Regions from separate parts of the Homo sapiens genome. Here regions 1, 2, 4 and 5 are each linked to region 3. The links are contacts of gene promoters, found by promoter capture Hi-C in blood cells and fetal thymus (Javierre and others, 2016). All regions are on one chromosome and are shown on one strand. Each heading gives the region's core, a stretch centred on a gene start or on the middle of the fragment in contact. The rest is flanking DNA. Distances are from core to core; before and after follow the strand shown.

Evidence for each region. The method cuts DNA at HindIII sites, captures the fragments that hold promoters and counts their contacts. A CHiCAGO score of 5 or more calls a contact.
Region 1: a fragment that was not itself captured here is called in contact with the fragment with the promoter of ADO in region 3 in 1 of 17 cell types (neutrophils); the score reaches 5.3 in neutrophils.
Region 2: a contact is called between a fragment that was not itself captured here and the fragment with the promoter of ADO in region 3, in 7 of 17 cell types (M2 macrophages, M1 macrophages, total B cells and 4 more). The highest score is 14.2, in M2 macrophages.
Region 4: a fragment that was not itself captured here is called in contact with the fragment with the promoter of ADO in region 3 in 3 of 17 cell types (M2 macrophages, M1 macrophages and M0 macrophages); the score reaches 7.7 in M2 macrophages.
Region 5: a fragment that was not itself captured here is called in contact with the fragment with the promoter of ADO in region 3 in 2 of 17 cell types (M2 macrophages and neutrophils); the score reaches 5.5 in M2 macrophages.

Annotation. Positions count from the first base shown.
Region 1 is chr10:63,118,500-63,122,495 of GRCh38, reverse strand. No RefSeq gene overlaps it. Among named protein-coding and RNA genes, the nearest start is that of NRBF2, 13 kb to the left of the region's middle. The HindIII fragment of the contact is 2,438 bases long and covers 1,045-3,482 here.
Region 2 is chr10:62,435,819-62,439,919 of GRCh38, reverse strand. It overlaps a transcript of ZNF365 not described here. Among named protein-coding and RNA genes, the nearest start is that of ZNF365, 64 kb to the right of the region's middle. The HindIII fragment of the contact is 1,152 bases long and covers 1,135-2,286 here.
Region 3 is chr10:62,802,683-62,806,771 of GRCh38, reverse strand. ADO (2-aminoethanethiol dioxygenase) reads right to left here and starts at 2,052. Exons shown (of 1, transcript NM_032804.6): 1 at 1-2,052. The coding sequence starts at 1,712. The coding sequence ends at 900. RefSeq lists enhancers at 1,448-1,567, 2,038-2,297 and a silencer at 1,748-1,997. The HindIII fragment of the contact is 5,397 bases long and covers 1-3,663 here.
Region 4 is chr10:62,545,644-62,549,899 of GRCh38, reverse strand. No RefSeq gene overlaps it. Among named protein-coding and RNA genes, the nearest start is that of ZNF365, 170 kb to the right of the region's middle. The HindIII fragment of the contact is 1,294 bases long and covers 1,642-2,935 here.
Region 5 is chr10:63,068,294-63,072,332 of GRCh38, reverse strand. No RefSeq gene overlaps it. Among named protein-coding and RNA genes, the nearest start is that of NRBF2, 63 kb to the left of the region's middle. RefSeq lists a cis regulatory region at 3,219 and an enhancer at 3,135-3,304. The HindIII fragment of the contact is 6,797 bases long and covers 1-4,039 here.

The DNA.
Region 1 (3,996 bases), core at 1,014-3,513, 320 kb before region 3:
GAGCAGAAGACCTGTCAAAGACATGCCCAGACTCCTGACCCACAACAATTATGAGGTAATACACGTGTGTTGTCTTAAGCCGCTAAGTTTGTTATGTGGCATAGAAAACTATTGCAGACCCCTCAAGAGAGTGGAATTCAGAGGCAGAATTTTCTTGAAAAACAATCATCATGGCCAGGCAAGGTGGCTCACGCCTGTAATCCCAGCATTTTGGGAGGCTGAGATAGGCAGATCACCTGAGGTGGGGAGTTCGAGACCAGCCTGACCAACATGATGAAACCCCCAACTCTACTAAAAATACAAAATTAGCCAGGCGTGGTGGCGCATGCCTGTAATCCCAGCTACTCAGGTGGCTAAGGCAGGAGAATCACTTGAACCTGGGAGGCAGAGGTTGCAGTGAGCCAAGATAGCACCATTGCACTCCAGCCTGGGCAACAAGAGCAAAACTCCATGTCAAAAAGAAAAAATAAAGAAAAAAACAATAACCATGAGTAGTGAATTCATGTCATTGCACTACTCAATCCACAGAGGCTGCTGCACAGTGGGCTTAATACCTCTGAGGGCATCTTCAGCAACTACTCAACAGGAAGGAAAATGTGATATATTCAGGTACATGCCAAACACACTGACGTGTGACAACCACTTCATCAGGATCAGCAAAAGAGGAGAAAGGATGGAATTTTACAACCATGTCCAAATGGTGATGATGGGCATAGCACCCACCTGTGCCATCCTCTGCCATTTGATGTCATGCTGTTGGTCAGTCAGTCACAGGCTGTGAAGAGCATGCTGGACTTGGCCAGGCTATTAAGGGAAGATATTATAAACCTACTGTCTTAGTCTATTTTGTGCTGCTGTAACAGAATACCTGAGACTAGGTAATTTATAAAGAACAGGGATTTATTTCTTACAGTCTTAGAGGCTGGGTAGTCAAAGGTTGAGGGGCTCACATCTGGTGAGGGCCTTCTTACTGAAACTATGCTTATAAACTTTATGAATTAATCAGGGAAGAAGGAAAGGGGAAAAACAAAAATAAACCAAGCTTGCAGCACATTCAGCATGAATTATAAGATCAGCTTGCTCTCCCTAACCTGCTGCCTCATAGTTATTTGCTGCCTATTGCCTCAGAATCACATAGACCCTGTTACAAGATTATAGATCCCCTTAAATGCTCTGTAGCAGCAGTTCCCAACCTTTTTGACATCAGAGACTGGTTTAGTGGAAGACAATTTTTCCACAGACGAGGGTTGCGGGGTGGTTTTGGGATGAAACTGCCCCATCTCAGATCATCAGGCATTAGATTCTCATTAGATAAGGAGCCAGCAACCTAGACCCCTCAGCAACCTAGATCATGTGCAGTTCACTACAGGGTTTGTGCTCCTATGAGAATCTAATGCTGCCACTGATCTGACAGGAGGCGGAGTTCAGGTGGTAATTCTTGCTTGCCCACTGTTCACCTCCTGCTGTGCGGCCTGGTTCCTAACAGGCCGTGGACAATTACCAGTTTGTGGCATGGGGGGTTGGGGACCCCTGCTCTATAGATAACAACTTGAACATTATAAAACATTAAGTTTTCCTCTTTGAGATAATCTGTCAAGTCCTGCATACCAGTGAAACTACTGACACCAGCTGGTCTGAAGGACCCAACAAGAAGCTGACTCACCAAATAATGCAGTTGCCATGTCCTGATTATTTCATTCCTTTTACCACAACTAATGACTTCCATTTTCCAGCCCCTCATCCCCCATGATTCACTTAAAAACCCCAGCCCAGAAGTCCTTGGGGAGATTAATTTGAGGGCCTCCTCCCATCTGCTGGCCCTGTGCACTGTGATCATTAAACTCTTTGTCTGCTGCAAACTCTGCTGTCTCAGTCTGTTACTGCACATCTGGCATGCAAGCTGTTGGTCCTAAAACATTGCTACAGCATCCCATGGGGGAAGGTAGAAGGGCAAGAGAGCATGCATGCAAGAAAGCAAGAGATCAAACTTGCAGCCTCAAGACCTTTTATAACTGGCCTAAGTCCATTCATAAGGGTGGAGCCATTATGGCCTAATCGCCTCTCAAAGGTGCCACCTATTAACACTGTTGCATTGGGGATTAAGTTTCCAATATTTGCTTTTTGGGGGACACATTCAATCCATAGCACCTACAAAGACTTTAAAACTATCCGGGTTTTGGCCAGGAACGGTGGCTCACGCCTGTAATCCCAGCACTTTGGGAGGCCGAAGCAGGTGGATCACGAGGTCAGGAGTTCGAGAGCAGCCTGGCCAACACAGTGAAATCCCATCTCTACTAAGAATATAAATATTAGCTGGGTGTGGTGGCACCCTTCTGTAATCCCAGCTACTCGGGAGGCTGAGGCAGGAGAATCGCTTGAACTTGGGAGGCGGAGGTTGCAGTGAGCCGAGATTGTGCCACTGCACTTCAGCCTGGCCACAGAGCAAGACTCTGTCTTGGAAAAAACAAACAAACAAACAAACAAACAAATAAAACCTATCCAGCTTTCTTCCCTTGATATTTGGGAAACAGTAGCTACGCCTGAACTTGCTACAGGGTGTTCTTTGTTTTGCATTTTTGTATCCCTTCGGATACATGGAAGACTTCTTTAGTTATCAGAAAAAGCCATTTATTTTCTGAGACCACCAGTGGAGAGTTGCACTAATCCCTAGGCAATCCCAACTAGAGACACAATGGAAATGCCTATTATTAAATGAGAGACAAGAAGAGCCAAGCAGTAAGGCTTCTGCAACTCAGAAAAAATGGGGCCTGGGTGCTTTGAGAGAGCATCTAAAAGCTGGTCCTGCAAAGCCTTTGGTGCTCTTCAAGGCTCCCCAGGAAAATGCATTTCATGTCAAAGAGCCCAAGCCTAAATGGGCCAGTATTGAGGTATTTGCCACATTGGACAGGTTCTTGATGCTTCTCCAGAATGTGCCACAAGGCTTAATTTCAGACATTCCTTGGATATTAGCTGCTCTAATCTCATACTCAATATTGTAATTATTATAATTATCTCTTTACCATCATGATAATCCAGTCTCTCCTTGAACTACTCAAATCAAGGCAGACCAATCTGTGGTAGGATATATTTTAAAATTCTAACATTTGTATATTTGATATTGGATTTTTTTTTTTACTATTAGAAAGTCTTTCATTTGTGTGAATTGTAATCTGTCTTCCCATGACTGCTATGCTCTGAATTTTTTTTTCTTATAAATCACTATAACATATGTGTGTGCAACCAGGCACAATCTGTTCCCTGTATCAAAATGCAAAATGTGCATATCCTTGACTCAGCAATCCCCATTGTAGAAACCTTCTCTACAGAAATACTAGCACAGAGGTAGAAAATAAAGGTATGTGAGGATGTTCATTGGGGTGCCATAATAGTACCCTCCCTAATTTTGGAATAGTTCAAACAAAACTAGCCAGACCATTTGACAGGCCTGCTAGAGAGAGGGATTCCTGCATCAGGTGGAAGCTTGGATTGGTTACCTCAAAAGCCTGTCCGGTTATAAGTCCTTGGTTTGCTCATTTATGGGGAGAGAGTGGAGCAGACTGTCCTGGTCCCACTTTCTGCTTTCTGAGCTTCTCTGCTGAGCAGGAGAAAAAGATGAACCTCCATTATGCAGTAGGAGAGGGAGTCCAGTGCACCTGCCACACATATGATGTTTGCAGACTGCCCAGTGAAGCCACCCAAGAGCATTCTTCTGTAGTCACAAAACCTACAAGGCCTGCCACAGAGACAGTAACAGGGACAACAGCAGGGTTGGGAGTAGCAGGGGCAGCAGCAGGCCCCAGAGTAGTGCTGGGCGCTTGGCTGCATCCAAGTCCACATGTCCAGAACAGATAGCACAGCAATGTCAGGGGCAGCCAGCAAGGGCCCAGGAGGAAAAGGAGCCAGGATGGTCACAGCAGGACCACCAGCGCGTCCTCAGTGGGTGTTAAATTAGCTGTGCGGGTGCTTCATGCATATCCTTGGAGAGCATGTCTAGCA
Region 2 (4,101 bases), core at 461-2,960, 370 kb after region 3:
TGGGCCAGGTTCTAAGAAGTATCAAAATTAAAAGTGAGATGATATTTTTGAGGGATTTTAATATTTAGATTGTGTCAGTTAGGATATGTTTGGCTCTCAGTAACAGTACACCAAATTATTAGTGGCATAAACAATAAAGACATTAAATTAAGTAATAGAAGATATAAGAAGCTGGAGGATGGTCATTTCAGAGCTGATTTACCAGCTCCACATTGTCAAGGTCACTGGGTTGACATCTTCAAGAGTCCCTTGGGTTTCCCATTTTGTTCACAAGATAATTTTGCAGATCCAGACATTAAATCCTTTATAACCTCATGCAAAGTCAGGGCAAAGGAAGAGCCACAGCTATTAGAGGGCTTGCACATATGCTTTCCCATCTTTGTTATAAAGAATATGTCTTTCTCAGAAGATATCAGTGTATTTCCCCTATGCTTCATTGGCTAAACCGAGCTACACATCCCATCCCTAGCTGCAAGAGAATCTGGGAAAGGGAGGCATTGTTAGGTAGTGAGTCAACATTTTTTTTTTTTTTTGCTAGAGTTGAAATAATCATAAAATTCTAAGTAAAGATTATTTAATCAATTGCTCAATCACGTGAGTGCTTCTGGAATAAACACAATGAAGGAATACACATGGCATGAGGAAAATGTAAAGAGAGAGAGGAAGACAGAGACCGAGAAGAGAAAGAATAGACCCATTATTAGTTGAAAGATGAGAAGAATTTAAATTGGTAAAGATGAAGGAGATTTCAAGTAAGGGAGAAAAACTAAGAAAGTGGGAAATGGAATTAAAATATCTATACTGACCAGAAACCATAAGTGTAGTATCAACAACAGCAAGGTGATAGTCTTACCGATATTCATACCATTAGAATAATTTTATTTTCCATGCTAAATGACCTTAAATGAGCACTATTTTCTATTTGAAATGTGTTTGTGTGTGTATTTCTCAAGAAGCACTCTAGCTAATTAGACAAAATGCTTGCAAGTTAGTGAGGCTGTAATGCAGAAGGAATAGAGACCAGGCAAATTCTTTCTGCTTGATGCCTACCTTAATAAAGCTTTCTAAGTACTGTGAGAAGCATACTGAGGAAGGATACTGGTGCTAGATACCATTCATCAGCTATTGCAAGCTTCAAAGGCACCGAAATGCTGAGTTATGAGGATTTTGCCAGAATCTATTCAAGTGGAAAGCACCCGGAGTAAGGCACAGTGTGCCTCTGAATCTTCTGCTTACATAAGAGAATAGCAAAGGCCTTAGATAAGGGAGTGACTTGATCTAATGTTATATCTCTTCCTTAATGCCAGTTATTCTGTATCTGCCCTTCATGTTTTTTTCCTTTATCTATCTTGTTAACACTCAAAATTACTTTATGTATGTGTTTGTTTACCTGGTTTTTGTAGTCTTTCCCCTTTCAATAAAAACTCTATGTGGCTGGGCATGGTAGCTCATTCCTGTAATCCCAGCATTTTGGGAGGCCAACGCGGGTGTATCACTTGAGGCCAGGAGTTTGAGACCAGCCTGGGCAATGTGGCGAAACCTCATCTCTACTAAAAATACAAAAATTAGCCTGGCATGGTTGCTGCGCCTGTAATCCCAGCTACCAGGGAGGCTGAGGCACGAGAATCGCTTGAGCCTGGGAGGCGGAGGTTGCAGTGAGCTGAGATAGAGCCATTGCACTCCAGCCTGGGTGATGGAGTGAGACTCTGTCTCAAAAAAAAAAAAACAAAAACAAAAACAAGAAAATACTGTATGAAAACAGATATAATATTCCTGTTCTCCATTGTATCTTCAGTCCTTGTCACAGGATCTGTGGACTCTCAATATTTATGAAATGAATGCATGAGTGAATAAATGCTCCTATCTGTTAACTAATTTCCCATACACAGTTACTTGAAATCTACAAAGCTGTCCAGCACCAGCTGTTATTCCAACAGGCCCATGCTATGCATCACGACAGAAGAATGATGTTGGATGTAGAGCGTGTTCAGCAAATAAAACTCATCAAACCAAATCTCACCAGGCGACCAATAAAAGAAAGATTAATACCTACATAATCAAGCCTGTGGTTTGTCTTACTTTAAAGTATGTGGATAGATTATCAGCTGTCACCCCCTAGTGGTAGAGAATATAATTATCAGGGCTGCTTGTTTCTGGTCAAAGGAAGGAAAAGAAGCCAGGAGATTTACAGAAAAGTGCATTTGCTACCAATCTCACAACCTTTAAATTGCATATACTATTCACACACACACGTACGTATATGTGTGAATTTAGAAGGAAAAAGCTTTATGAGTTACACCTTACTCTGATGATCTGGCTGTTTGTTAACTGCCTGGAAAACATAACATGAGATGTAAATAACTTGCTAAAAACTCGCTTTAAACTTTGTCTGCTTCCGTCATTACAATTCCTTATGAAATCCCTTCCTGAGAAAGAATTAAAATAGCTATTTATTCTCAAAGCCTCTTAGAGAAGAATATTGATTTCCTATTTAAAATTTGACATTTACTCTATGACGTGCGTAGAATTTCCAGAAAGCAAGGAAACCATGACGAAGTTACCCTAAAGCTTGATATAGATCAACTTTTTTAGATAAATTTCAGAAAACTACATTTTTTAAAGACAAAAAAAGTTAAATTCAGCCAAACTGCTACTTACAAATCATTAGTCGCAAAACAGCCAGTTGCTTAACTGAATTCAACCACATACATTTCCCTGCCTCCACCCAATCCTATTTTCCAAAACACCCACAGACACATATATTTGTATCTATGGGTATAGATTGTGGAAGACTTTAAAATAAACCATCCAAAATGATCTCTGATTCTGAAATCACTGGAAACAGAGAATACATTTCTCATACATACATTTAAATGTGGTATTTGACTCTCCCTCTTAGCTAGAGAGAGTTTATGTGGAATTTATAAGAAAGTTTATAGTCAGAAGTCCATCTGCTTATAGGTCTTGTTTGAAATGCTTGGTGTGTGTGTGTGCTAGCCACATTTTTTGGAGCACTCGTTGTTTACGGTGCATTGAGCTAGGCATTTAACCCTCCTAACCAACTTATGATATAAACAGTACTATCATAACCATCTTACAGATGAGCCTGCTCAGGCATATTAAATTCCTGGCACAATGTTACCAGCTACAGGGCTAGATCTTACTAGATCCCAATTGGTTGTCCTTCCATCATTAGCTTTTTCAGTTAATTGGCTCTGCTCAACAAGAAGCAGGAACTTAGTAAGTGCAATGATGTTGGTCATGAAGGGTGCTGGCAAGATTCAAAAGGCTTCAGGAAATATTCATTTCTTAGTGAATAAAAATTTCTTGGTGAAAATCTTCCTGCCTTAATGAAATAATGAACCTAATTAACAACTAAGGTCTTGTAAAGCATCAAAATTATCCTTTTTAGCATTATATTTTTATGTGTTATTACAAATCTGGATATGTTCTATAATTTTATTGTGTAACTAAATCTCAATTGTTATTTATTTTTTTGCCAGTGGCTTTTTTTTCTCCTAAATATAAAGAATGATTCCCTGTACCCTCTTTTAACTTCCCCAAAATAATCACTTAGTTTAATTAAGGGTTCTAGTTACTTTAGTACCAGTTAACCAACTTTTTACCCTATTTAATTTATATGGCTGTTGGAACTTTCCTATTTGTCTAGAAGAAAATTCCCATGGCCTGGAAAATTGCTTGCTTGCCTGGTGGGATTGCCAGTTACACGCTAATTATAGTATCTTTTATAATACATTAGATGGTGGTGGCTCCTTTATATATATATAAGTGAAACTCACAAAGACGTTCAGACCAGTGCATCAGTAAGGCTGAATAAGAAAGAAAAGTAACAGTCTTAAAGTATTACGGTATTACAAAAAAAACCAAATACCCATGAAGTAAAAATTTTGAAGAGTCTCAGGTGTGAAATCCTACATTCCAAGCATTAAGTTAAAAGGACAAAATACCACAGAACTGTCAGAATGGGTAGCCTTCTTTTGCACCAATGCTGAAATATCATTTTTTATACAACTAGTCTTTTGCTAGATATTTCAGATAATGACATCAAATTTGAGTAGGCTGTTTATCCACTTTGCCTAT
Region 3 (4,089 bases), core at 803-3,302:
ACACATTCAGCTCCTTTGAATCTTCCCGTTAGAAAATACAGAATTACTCTATCACCTTTTAAGGTACAGTAAGACAAGAAAAAAAGTCATGTGAGGATAATACAGTCTTTGCATTAAAGGTGAATCTGCAACATGAAATCTGCTCGACTCACAGATCTGGAGATTCATAGGGAAGATAAGCTCTAAGTGACCATGTCACAGAGATATGCAGGTGCTGAATTTCTTAGTAGATGCTGCCTGAGTAAACCAGATGTGGCTACTGGGCAAAGGGAGGAAAGAAAATAAATCTTGTCCTCTACATGCATAGTTATGTTGTGAGAATGATCCCCAAACTGAAAAAATCATTTAGTTTTCACAAGGAATTAATTAGGCAGGCCAGCTCACTTTAAACAGTAGCTCATCTCCTTAAACCTAGTTTTTACCAATGACTTGAACTAAAAACAATTCAAACCACTGGGTCATGCACAGTCAATAAGTTAAAAAACTATAAGAAAAAAAGGCATAAGGGCATGAGTGGAAAATAAACCCTATTTAACTAAGGGGTAGGGAGTGGGAGCAAGAAAACCACTTAGTATTTTGTATAGAATGGGGAAGAGAGGAAGATATTTTCATTATGGCTTTAGGATGGAAGCGCTTCAGATAGTCCCCTGCCCCATTCCTCCAAATCAAAGCCCCAGTGGCAGTGACAGTACCAGGAAACAATCTAGCCTCCCCGCCCACCCCGCCCCCATAACCGTGCCCGGCGGCTGCTGTCCAGTCGCCCGTGCTTCCCAAGGCTGCCGAGGAAGCGGCTGCTGCTCATTCCAGTAGATCCAACGCCCAGGCTAGGGGGTAGAGACACAGCCCTTGTGGTAGGGTAGGGCACGTCTTCGGCCCACCGCTCCTGGGCGCCAGTGGCTTCAAGGGAAGACCTTGGGACCTGGATAGGGTTCTCCCTCGCACCAGAAGTCATCGGCCTGTGGGGTCTCCAGGAGCCACACCTCTCGAGGCAGGTCACAGGCCGAGCTGGAGGCCTCCTTGGGCCTGACCGGCTCCAGCACCCGGTAATAGTGGCAGTCCCGGCCATCGTCCGGGTCGTAGGGCGGGGCCAGGATGTCCAGGAAGGCGGCAGGCCCTTCCACGGCGTCGATCTGGTGCAGGTTGTCCCGGTGCGGTGTGAGGATGCAGGGGCCGCTGGCCTCGGTGTACTCGGCCCGCGAACGCAGCACGCCCGGCCGCACGGCTTCTCGCTCCCGGGGCTGCAGCGGCGGCTCGAACTGCTGCTCGGGCGGCAAGGCCCGCGGCCGTTGCCCGCCGCCCGCGTCTAGCTTGTCCATGCAGCTGATGCGCACGGTGCCGTACAGCACCTTGAGCATGCCGTGCATGCCCGGGTGGTCGTGCAGCGGGATGGACGTGCCGCTCTTGAGCAGGAACACGCCCAGGCTGAAGCCGTCCGTCTCGTAGATGTGCATGTAGGTGACTGGCGGCAGGTTGGGCGGCAGCGGCTGCAGTGTGGCCTTGCGCGGGGCGATGTTCAAGTCCTCGGCGCGGAGCTGGGTCAGGAGGCTCTTCAGCTTGCTCAGGTTCTCGGGGAAGCCCGGCTGCATCGGCGCCTCCGGGCCAGAAGCCGCGTCGCGATCGGAAGCGCCGCGGCCGCCCCCGCTGCCCCGGAAGGTGAGGCAAGCCTGGCGGGCGATCCGTTGGATCAAGGAGGCCATGTTGTCTCGGGGCATGGTCGGCTGCTCCTCTGCGTGCCGGGACCGGCCCCCTCCTTTCCTCCGCCCCTTGCGGTCCCCGGCGGCCGCCACGGCTGCCCCCAGCCCGGGTCGAGGCGGGAGGCCCCGCAACCACCGGCCCGTCGGGCGCGCGGCACCGCCGCCAACCTCAGCAGCCACGCGCCCGCAACTGCCCGGCGCGCTCGCCTTGAGCCCCCTCTGAGCGCGCACGCGCACGCCCCACACCCCGCACTCACGCTCCGGGAGCAGATAGCGGCCGCGCAGACGGTGCCAGGCTTTGCCTTACGCCCGGCGCTCCATTCATGCGGCCCGCACCTACGACGGTGGCCGGGCGCCCGGGGACCCTGCGGAGCATGCCGGGACTTGTAGTCCGGCCTTCCGCTTGAGCTCTGAGATAGTTCAGTTTGTTGATTGGAAAATAGAGGAACTATTACACATGTTGGGCATAAAGCGATCTTTTTCAGGATGCAGAGGTGTTTTTCTTGTTTTAGAAAAGATGAATCGGGGTGGAAGATTAGTAGCCACTTGACTACAACTCCCGGCACTCCCCGCAGGGTGGAGTGACGCACTTCCGTCAGCTGGCCCCCGGAGTAGTGGAGGCTCTTGGCCTTCATAAGGAAAGGGGCAGGGAGGGTCGTTAACCTTCTGGCGCCGCGCTGGGGCCTGGTTAGCCATGCAGGGTCGCCTTCCTTTGGCCTTGCCCCTGGGAAGGAGGCTGTTGAGTCAGCCTTAGCTCCTCGTAGCGGCCTAGGCAGCACTGTCTCCCACGGGAATTGCAGGAGGGCGCTTTTATAATTTTGTGTTTCCTAGGAGGGGAGGGGGTCCAGGCCGTCCTCTGTGATCATCAAGGTTACTCGGCCCAGCTGGGCCCAGCTGGGCCCAGCTGTTGTTTGCATCAGGACCTGATGACGCTGCTCTTCTGGTTACAGAGCAGTATAGCTTTTTGCTGGAGAGACTTGAGAGGCCATTTACAGTGGTCGTGGATTCTGAACATACTAGTGGTTATCAAATCTTGGTTTGCCTGAGAAGGGGGAGCGGGCTTTTATAAATGCAGATTCCCTGTCGTCACCCAGAGATGGAGTTACTAGATGGTTCTGAGGCATCCTAGGAGAAATAGTGGTGTGCAACAGTCAGTTCAGTCAGTAATTGTGAAATTGTTTCACTACACAGAGGCATCCTTCTCCTTGGCGTGAACTAACTTTTGGCATAAGTAAATGACTAGAAAAGCAAGACATTAGATACTATGACTTTAAACTTAACCCTGAGTTTAAAGTCTTTTTGGATTCCAAAGCTGAACATGGGTTTCTTGTACATTTTGTAATTGGAGTGGTTCAGTGAATCCTCTCCAGTTAAAATAGGCATACTTTTTAAAGTGGATTACATAACCTGGCTAATGAGTACTCACAATATGCCAGGCACTGTGTTAAGTGCATTATATAATGAATGTTATACTATTTAATCCTTGCAGCAACTCTTAAGAGGCAGGCACTATTATTATTCCCAGATTGCAGATGAGGGAATAAGTTGTAGGATAGTGAATACTAAGTACCCAGCAAAGCATGAGCAGCAGAGCAGAAATAAGTACAGTCTTACCAAAAACAGCAGCTTGAATTGGTGTAAAAGCACCAAACGAGAGTCAGGATATTGTTGTTCCAGCCTACTGTGTGTACTTACAAGCTGTGTGTCGTTAGGCAAATCCTACCCTTTTAGGGCCTCAATTTATTCATTTGTAGAATGCCGGTGTTAAGGGAACAAAAGTTCTGAACCCTACTCATCAGAACCCCCTGGAGAGCTTAAAAAATAAAGATCTTGGGGTCACACCTCAGAGATTTTGATTCAGAAGAACTGGAGTGAAGCCTATTTTTTTGTGTGTGGTTTTTTTTTGTTTGTTTGTTTGTTTGTTTTGAGGGGTAACAAGGTTTATCGTGAAGAGCGAAATAACAAAGCTTCCACAGCTTGGAAGGGGACCACAGCGGGTTGCCCCTATGATTTATATTTAAGATGCTTCCTCAAGCAATTATTATTATTATTTTTTTTTTTGAGACGGAGTCTGGGTCTGTTGCCCAGGCGGGAGTGCACTGGTGCGATCTCGGCTCACTGCAAGCTCCGCCTCCCGGGTTCACGCCATTCTCCTGCCTCAGCCTCCGGAGTAGCTGGGACTACAGATGCCCGCCATCACACCCGCCTAATTTTTTTTTCTGTATATTTAGTAGAGACGGGGTTTCACCATGTTAGCCAGAATGGTCTCGATCTCCTGAGCTCGTGATCCGCCCCCCTCGGCCTCCCAAAGTGCTGGGATTACAGGCGTGAGCCACGGCGCTCGTCCAAGCGATTCTTGATCATTAGCTCAGTTTGAGAACCACTGGTAGAGCTG
Region 4 (4,256 bases), core at 1,039-3,538, 260 kb after region 3:
GTTTGAGTGCCTACTATATTCCAGGCACCATTCTAGGCCCTAGAGAAACAGCTCTGGATATAATAGAGTCTTCTCTTATAGAGCTTACATTCTAAGGGAGAGGGGGTAGACAGAAAGTAAATAAATATGTAATATAACAGTTAGTGATAAGTGCTGTGAAGGGAAAAGTAGAGCAATGCAAGGAGAGAGTGGGGGTGATGGTGCTATTTTATCAAGCGCAGCCACAGGAAGACTTTCTGATTAGGTGACATTTGAGCAAAAATCTGGTCAACACTATGACAAAATCAGAGAAAAGATTGTCTTAGTCACTGTATTCTGCTAAGCCAATGGACAGAGTAGATTCCTTTCAGAAATAGTTGCAACAAAGTTTTCAGAGGACTATTAACCCTCAGGTAATTAGAAAATCCAATCTGTCACAATTCCTCCTAACCCCATTTCTTAGACACTGCAGTCAAAAGAAGGCAATGTGTGTATTTATACATTATATATATATACATATATATATATGCATTCTTAATTGTCTACTCATAGACAATCTGCTATAGTGGAAGAATAATTATCTTCAAAATGAATGCAGATAGGAGATTGTGCAATTGATAAGTTCTCCTTAGAATCCCCACGCTATCTCTTTGTGATTTTGAGTCAAATGGGTAACCTTCCCAGATTTCACTTTATCTGGGAAAACATGATAACAACACCTACCCTTGGACTGGCTATGAGGATTAAGTCAGATGCCATATGTAAGATCTGGGCACTTAGTAAGTACCTAAAAACATGTTAATTTTATTCTCCCAAGGTGCCTAGAGAATGATTAATTTATGAAGAGTGTCATAGAGCGATGCAGTAAACATAAAATTTCATTTCTTTTCCTAGCAACAGAATTGGAAATTTTAGGATGTCCAGGAAACTAGTGGTTTAAATTGAAATGATTATTCTATGTTGTCAACGTCAGTAACCCATCTGGACTATTTGTTTAAAGTCTTTTATTCCAGCTAAATATCAGCTCAACAGAAAATAATGAGAGTGAGTACCATGTCTGGAATTTCTTTGGACGCTGTGCCCTAAGAGTATAATAGCCAGTCAACTATGTGAGGCATATGCTCAGTTACAACCTCTCATTGTCTGCAAAATTAACATTTATTTTACTGGACCCAGTAGGGTGGGTCCAATAAATGGGCACCTGCAAGTTTTCATATAACTTTCATTACAACACTTCTGTAAGCCCAGTACGCACTTTGCTGAATTTCCCCAAAATAGAATGGATGGGACCCACTGGGTTCTATTTTAGACTGGCTTGTGTATCCTTCCCCTTACTGCACATCTACAGAACTAGAATTAGAGGAAAATTTCTGCAACCTGTCTAGTACTTAGTGCTCCATGTGGGAGTTTCTTTAAAATATATGAATGGGTTATTTTCTCATTTTGTTAATTATTTCAGGAGGCTAGTGGTAGGACAGCTGCAGAGTGCCCATCACTCTACTGTTTCCAAAATTAAGTTTTCCATGAACAAATCTAGTAGATACAGATTGAACTACTGTTGAACACCAGTATGCTGTTCTTATCCCATAACCTTTCTTCAGAGGTTCATTCCATTTTTACTGATGTGATGTCAAGTTTTTTCAAAATGTAAAGGTAAAAGCTTGCTCCATTAACAACCCACTTTTAACATGGGCATGACTTCTAGTTGAACCAGTATTATGTGCAGACCCGGAATTATCCCCACTGATCCTGAGAGCTGAGAATTTCTCTAAGCTGACTGACCCTAGAGGGGAGGGAGCTAACCCCTGGGAGAACCAGAACACCTGATCCTTGCCTGTGGTGTCAGAGACCAAGGTATGTTACTAACCCTGGCCTAAGTGGACTTGTTAGCTTTGGTCCCCAACACTAGATGTGAAATCAATGGAGAACCTAGTTATCGGATGGGCATTTTGATGCGGTGATAGTAATCAAATCTATATAAAGAAGATTATCACTGAAATGAGTATCACTTTTAAATAATACTTTGTACCTTAATATTAAGTTTACACAGCACTATCTACAGTATTAGTTTATATAATCTCCACAAATCAATGTGAGGAAAATTATCATCTTCATTTTACATATGAGAAAATCCAAGACTGAAGAAGTTAAAGAGTTTGCCCAAGATTACACAACTAGTAAATGTCAACTGGAATTGTTCTCCATATGTTCAGAGTTCAAACTTCCTGCTCTCCTCCCTCTACTAGAGTCTTCCAATTCCTGTACTCCATAGACACACTTACTCATTAGTTTTTTACATTAGCTACCTATCTTTTTCTTTTTATGCTATTTTACATTATCGCTTGACTTTTGATTTTCAGGTGACCAAAGGACCATGGATCCTCAACAAATCTCTAAAAGTCCAAGGTTGACTCTAAATTGAAGAAGATGGTGTGTTTTCAAACGAAAATTATATCAGAATACATGTATCTCTGGGCTTAATGACAAAAGAAGAGATTCAGTTATGTCTTTTATTCCTTTGTAAGATTTATATCAAACCCTTCTTATTCTTTGAAATCCATCCTATTCATCCCAAATCATAGTGAGATCCTTCAACATTGACTATCTAGACCATTTGTTTGGTAGTTCATCATGAATTGCATTATGTACCTCATGTATTACTGACTTGTTATTATCGTCTCATTATTATCTAATTTTCCGTTAATGAATTGCCTCCCCACTGAAGGCTTATAGAAAGAAAGCAAGGGCCATATCTTAAACTTTTCTCAATTCCTTAGATTCAAGACTGACTTTAAGAACGCTTATAAAAAGAGAACCACGGAAAATATGTTGTTATAGTTACTAATTTTCTACGCACTCTCCACCTCTTTTTGGCTAACATAACTCTGAGTTTGTTGGGCAGTCATGTGATCCAGAGATGCCAGTGAGATATAAGCAGATCAGTTCTGGAAAAGCTTTTGTGTTCTTTTCTTACGGACAGGGAGAAGAGATCTTGCTGACCCACCCCTTCTCTTTCTTTCTGACCTGAATGTGGATATGTGGTTTGCTTCTGTGGCTGCAATCAGGTGACATGAGGCACCAACCATTGGACCAAGAAGACAACAGCCAAAGACAGAAGAGCAGAAAAATAAAAGGAAAAGGCCTGTGTTTTGATAACATCAATGAGCAGCAGTACCAGTGCCAATAGTCACCTGTCTCCAGCCTTCTTGTGAATGAGATACTACAGGTCTGTATTGCTTGAGCCATTTCTAACTCCAGAATATATTTAGAGTTTCATACTGAAGTTGAACCACACATCTTTCTTTGAACTTCCTAACAGGCAAAACAACTGCATAAAAGAGATACTCAATTAGTTATTATTTGTCATTGTCTTTGAGGAGAAAATTGATAGTTCTTCAAGAGAGGCACTGTTTCTTGTGAAACTTAGTTCTTTAAGAAATGTCTTGGGTGGGGCATCATAGAGAGACACTGAGTTATGGTGGAAACTGTATTTAAATCATATCCCCAAATTAAATGCAAAATTAGTTTTCATATGGTTGTTTCTTGTAGGACCTTTTAATGTAAACTGCAGATATAATACCAAACCCTAACACAGTGAAAACAATTATGTAAGAGACTATTTAGGTCATGCAGCCTAAATAGATTTTTGTTGGGCTTTGAAACCAAAAACAACAAATAATATTTTTTATTTCCTCATCTAAATAATTTTCATCCCTCTAGGTTGTCATACAATCAATGGAAAGCAAGACATAGTTTCTGTTATGTAATTCAAAGTTTCACAATGGAAACAAATCACTCTCCTATGGAAATTTCCCAAAATATTGCTCTGAAAGAAATAAGTTTTAGAATCTAAATTTATATGTTTCACAGTCTTCTTTGATTCCATTAATTAAATAATTGCTTACCTCTATTGTTTTCCTGGTTAGAAAGAAGGTCATTTAATTGGGTCTTAGTCTATCAGACAAAACCAGCTGGCCCATTGCTGAATTAGAAAAAGAGGAAATACTGACTCAACCCATTTAAGCAGAGAGCAGCGTAGGCAGGGAGGGTCAGCCTTACACATCTTTTATTGCAAAATAGTTCCAATTCTCTTGAGACTGGATGAGTGGGAGAGAATAGATTATACTTCTGAAGTAGAAGCTATCTAAGAGAACGGGAAAATAGCCCTTTGGTTCAGCAAAGGATGGAGAGCCTGCCTTCTACAGAGGCCACCATTTAATCATTTTGGTATCTGTGTGGCACTTGGGGGGGTTTCTAAGCCTTAAGAATTTGAAATC
Region 5 (4,039 bases), core at 11-2,510, 270 kb before region 3:
TGGGCCAAACCAGCTAGGTTGGGGAGAACAGCTTCCTCTCCTCCCCTTCACCACATCCTGGGGGCCCAGGTGATTGGCTCTGGACCAGGCTGGTGTCCAATGGGAGGAAATCAATGTCCTATTCCCATGACCCTGTTTCTCCTTTTCCATTTTGGGTCTGAATTCTGTTTGATTTAGGTCCATGGAAGAGAATAGTTATGGATTGTTATTGGAAGACCAGAGGAAGGGAGACAGAGCCAAGACTCAGCCGTGTCACTTGACAAATTACTAAGGGCTGAGGGGGGAGGCAACATGCTCATGGTGGCGAGGAAACTGCAACTCGTTCTACAGAAGATAAGAACCCAGAATGTGTTGTGAATTCCCCTGGGTCAAACTAAAGGCAGAAGGAAGGGGAGAATCATGCAGAAAGCAAGATGGCACCTTTATCTAAATATAGTATAGCACAGAGGCAGTGATGCTAATGTTAAAGCAGCCTTTGGAGTTCTGACTAGGGCAAACCATTCATGTATTTCAGTTTGTGCTAAACGCCTAAACATATGGGAGGCGGGATCAATCTACCTATCTCTGCATTTTTTTCTTTTTCTTTTTCTTTTCTTTTCTTTTCTTTTTTTTTTTTTTTGCGACAGAGTCTCACTGTCACCCATGCTGGAGTGCAGTGGCATAATCTGGGCTCACTGCAACCTCCGCATCCCAGGTTCAAGTGATTCTCCTGCCTCAGCCTCCCGAGTAGCTGGGATTATAGGCATGCACCACCACACCTGGTTAATTTTTTTTTGTAGTTTTAGTACAGACAGGGTTTCGCCACATCGGCCAGGCTGGTTTCAAACTCCTGACCACGTGATTCACCCGCCTCAGCCTCCCGAAGTGCTGGGATTATAGGCGTGAGCCACTGCGCCCAGCCTATCTCTGCATTTTTATACCACCTTTTGCCAGAGAACCCAGGTGCTCAGACTGCGACCAGTTGGACGACTTGCCCCCATCCTGAGAACCTGGCAGGGACCCAGGCTAAACATTACAGCAATGTTTGAGCAATAGAGACTCAGCCTTAGCCCAGGGTTCCACCCCTGCACCTCCTGCCCCTGCCAGCAGAAAGCAGCAGGGTCTCTTATGGGATCAGCTGAACAATCAGCTCCACTCTTGATAATGAGATCTTGAGCTCTACTAAGAAAAGACGGATATCGAATTTAGCTCTTAGACGCTTTCATAGCTCTGTCTAGTGATCTGTGGGCTTTCATGGACAGCTGTTTGGTGCTAGGAGGAAAAGCCTGGGCAGGGAGGATTTGCCTACCTGCCCCTGTGGTGGGAGGAAACACAGACAAGAGGGTGTTCCTTTTATCATACTCTCCAAAGGCTAGAGGGGAGGAGGGAGAGCTGATCACCTGGCATGACCAGCACTGACTCTGCTTAGAGGGTTCTCACCCTGGCTCAGGGCTTTTTTTTGGGTCCAGGATTTTTGCTGTACCAGTGCACAGGCTGCCCTGCTGTTTTTTACTTTCTAAAAACGTACATCTACTTTAAAAACACAAATATCTCCTTTAGCATTGTTGTAAGCAGCAATAAGCATGGAATCACATACATATGTTATATACTTATGCATATTTTTCTAATACACTTTCAGATAAATATGTAACTACTACAAAATCATTTGTGAAGTACCTAAAATTTATTTGAGTACCCCATTTTAGGAAAACTACAGTAAGGTTGGCCTTTGGAGGACATGACATGCTTGGTCAAGAACACTATCCCATGTCAATGTGAGAAGGGTAAAACCAGTTGATTTAGGTTGTTCTAACATGAGACTCAATATCTCATTCATCTTATGAAAAAGAAGAAGGAAAGAGAGGAGGAGAAGGAGGAGGTGGGGAGAAGTTTGGTAATTAGGATGCTAGATGATTGTAAAATATGAACATGGACTTGAGTGATGAGGCTCAGGTAAAAAGCATTTTTTTTTTTTGAAATGGAGTCTCATTCTGATGCCCAGACTGGAGTGCAATGGTGCAGTCTTGGCTCACTGCAACCTCTGCCTCCTGGGTTCAAGCGATTCTCTCACCTCAGTCTCCCAAGTAGCTGGAATTACAGGCGCTTGCCACCACGCCCAGCTAATGTTTTGTATTTTTGGTAGAAACGGGGTTTCACGGTATTGGCCAGGCTTGTCTCAAACTCCTGACCTCAAGTGATCCACCCGCCTCAGCCTCCCAAAGTTCTGGGATTACATGTGTGAGCCATCATGCCCAGCCGGTAAAAAGCATTTTTGATTATTACATGGACAAATACTTCAGCTCATGGCACCAATCCTAACCAACCATTTTCTGAGTCTACAGAAGTGTATTAGGCAGACCAGGATAAGCAATCCTGAAGTAACATGAATGCTTGAAGCCCCTGTGGCTAAACATGCAACAGTTTTCTTCTCACTCACACAAAGCCTGCTGTGGGTTGAGTGGGTTCTCTGAGGTATCTTCCGTTCCCAAGGTGACTCAGATATCCAATCCCACCACCTCGGCACATGGCTGCCAGAGTTGCCCGAGCCAAGGAAGAGCACCTGGAGAGTCTCACGGGGCTTTTTGCTGCCCGAGACCCAGATGACCTACGTGGGTTACATGTTCCTGCCTGGCAGCAAGAGTGGCTGGGGTATGTTTTCCTCAGGGAGTTCAGGAAAATGAGGAGAAAGGGGTATGGATGAGCACTGGAAGTCTCAGTAAGAAAAACACAACATCTGGAAGCTGACAGTTTGTATTTCCACTCACCAGTTATGTGTTTTTTCATATGTGACACCGGCATACAGATGCCCACTTTGTGACTTTGTTGTGAGATTAGATAAGATAATGCACATAAATGCCTCATGCTTTACTGCCTCTATCTAATTAACCTGGACAAAAAGAGTGTGGTGTGATGGAGATTTGAAGATTGCTTCAGGGTGCTGTGTGCTCAATTAGGACTTCATTTCAAGCCCTAGGGTGAGCCTGCTGCTATTTGACCTGCCTTCTACAGAAGCAGTGTGTCTGTCTGTGAGTACCTGTCACCAGCAAATGATAGTTCCTGTTTCTTTCCCTCTTGGCAAGACTGAAAAGTCAGTATTAGGTTTTAAGTTCTATTTAAAATATAACAACAACTTGGCCAGGCACGGTGGCTCATGCCTGTAATCCCACTCTTTGGGAGGCAGAGGCAGGCAGATTACCTGAGGTCAGGAGTTCAAGACCAGCCTGGCCAACACAGTGAAACCCCGTCTCTACAAAAAATACAAAAATTAGCTGGGCATGGTGGCGTGCACCTGTAGTCCCAGCTACTCAGGAAGCTGGGGCAAGAGAACTGCTTGAACCTGGGAGGCAGAGGCTGCAGTGAGCCAAGACAGTGCCACTGCACTCTAGCCTGGGTGACAGAGCGAGACTCTGTCTCAAAAAAAAAAACTATATACGTGTATATAGATATATATAGATATCTATATCTATATATAGTGTGTGTGTGTATTTATAAACAACTTAAAATAAATTGTGATTAAAAAACACATAACATAACTGAGCGTAATGGCTCATGCCTGTAATCCCAGCACTTTGGGAGGCCGAGGCAGGTGGATTACATGAGGTCAGGAGTTTGAGACCAGCCTGGCCAACATGGTGAAACCCTGTCTCTACTAAAAACACAAAAATTAGCCAGACATGGTGGCACACACCTGTAATCCCAGCTACTCAGGAGACTGAGGGAGGAGAATCTCTTGAACCCAGGGGATGGAGTGATCTCAGCATTGAGCTGAGATCGCATCACTGCGCTCCAGCCTGGGCGACAGAGCAAGACTCTGCCTCAAGAATAAAAACAAAAACAAAAGCAAACAACAAACCACATAACGTAACATTTACTCTCATAACCGTTTTTAAACTGTGCAGTTCAGCAGTGGGAGGTATATTCACATTGTTTCGCAACAAACCTCCAGAACTTTTTCATCATGCAAAACTGAAACTCTATACCCATTGAACAACACCTCCCATTTCCTCCTCCCCCAGCCCCTGGCAACCACATTCCATTTTCTTCTGTTTCTAGAAATTTG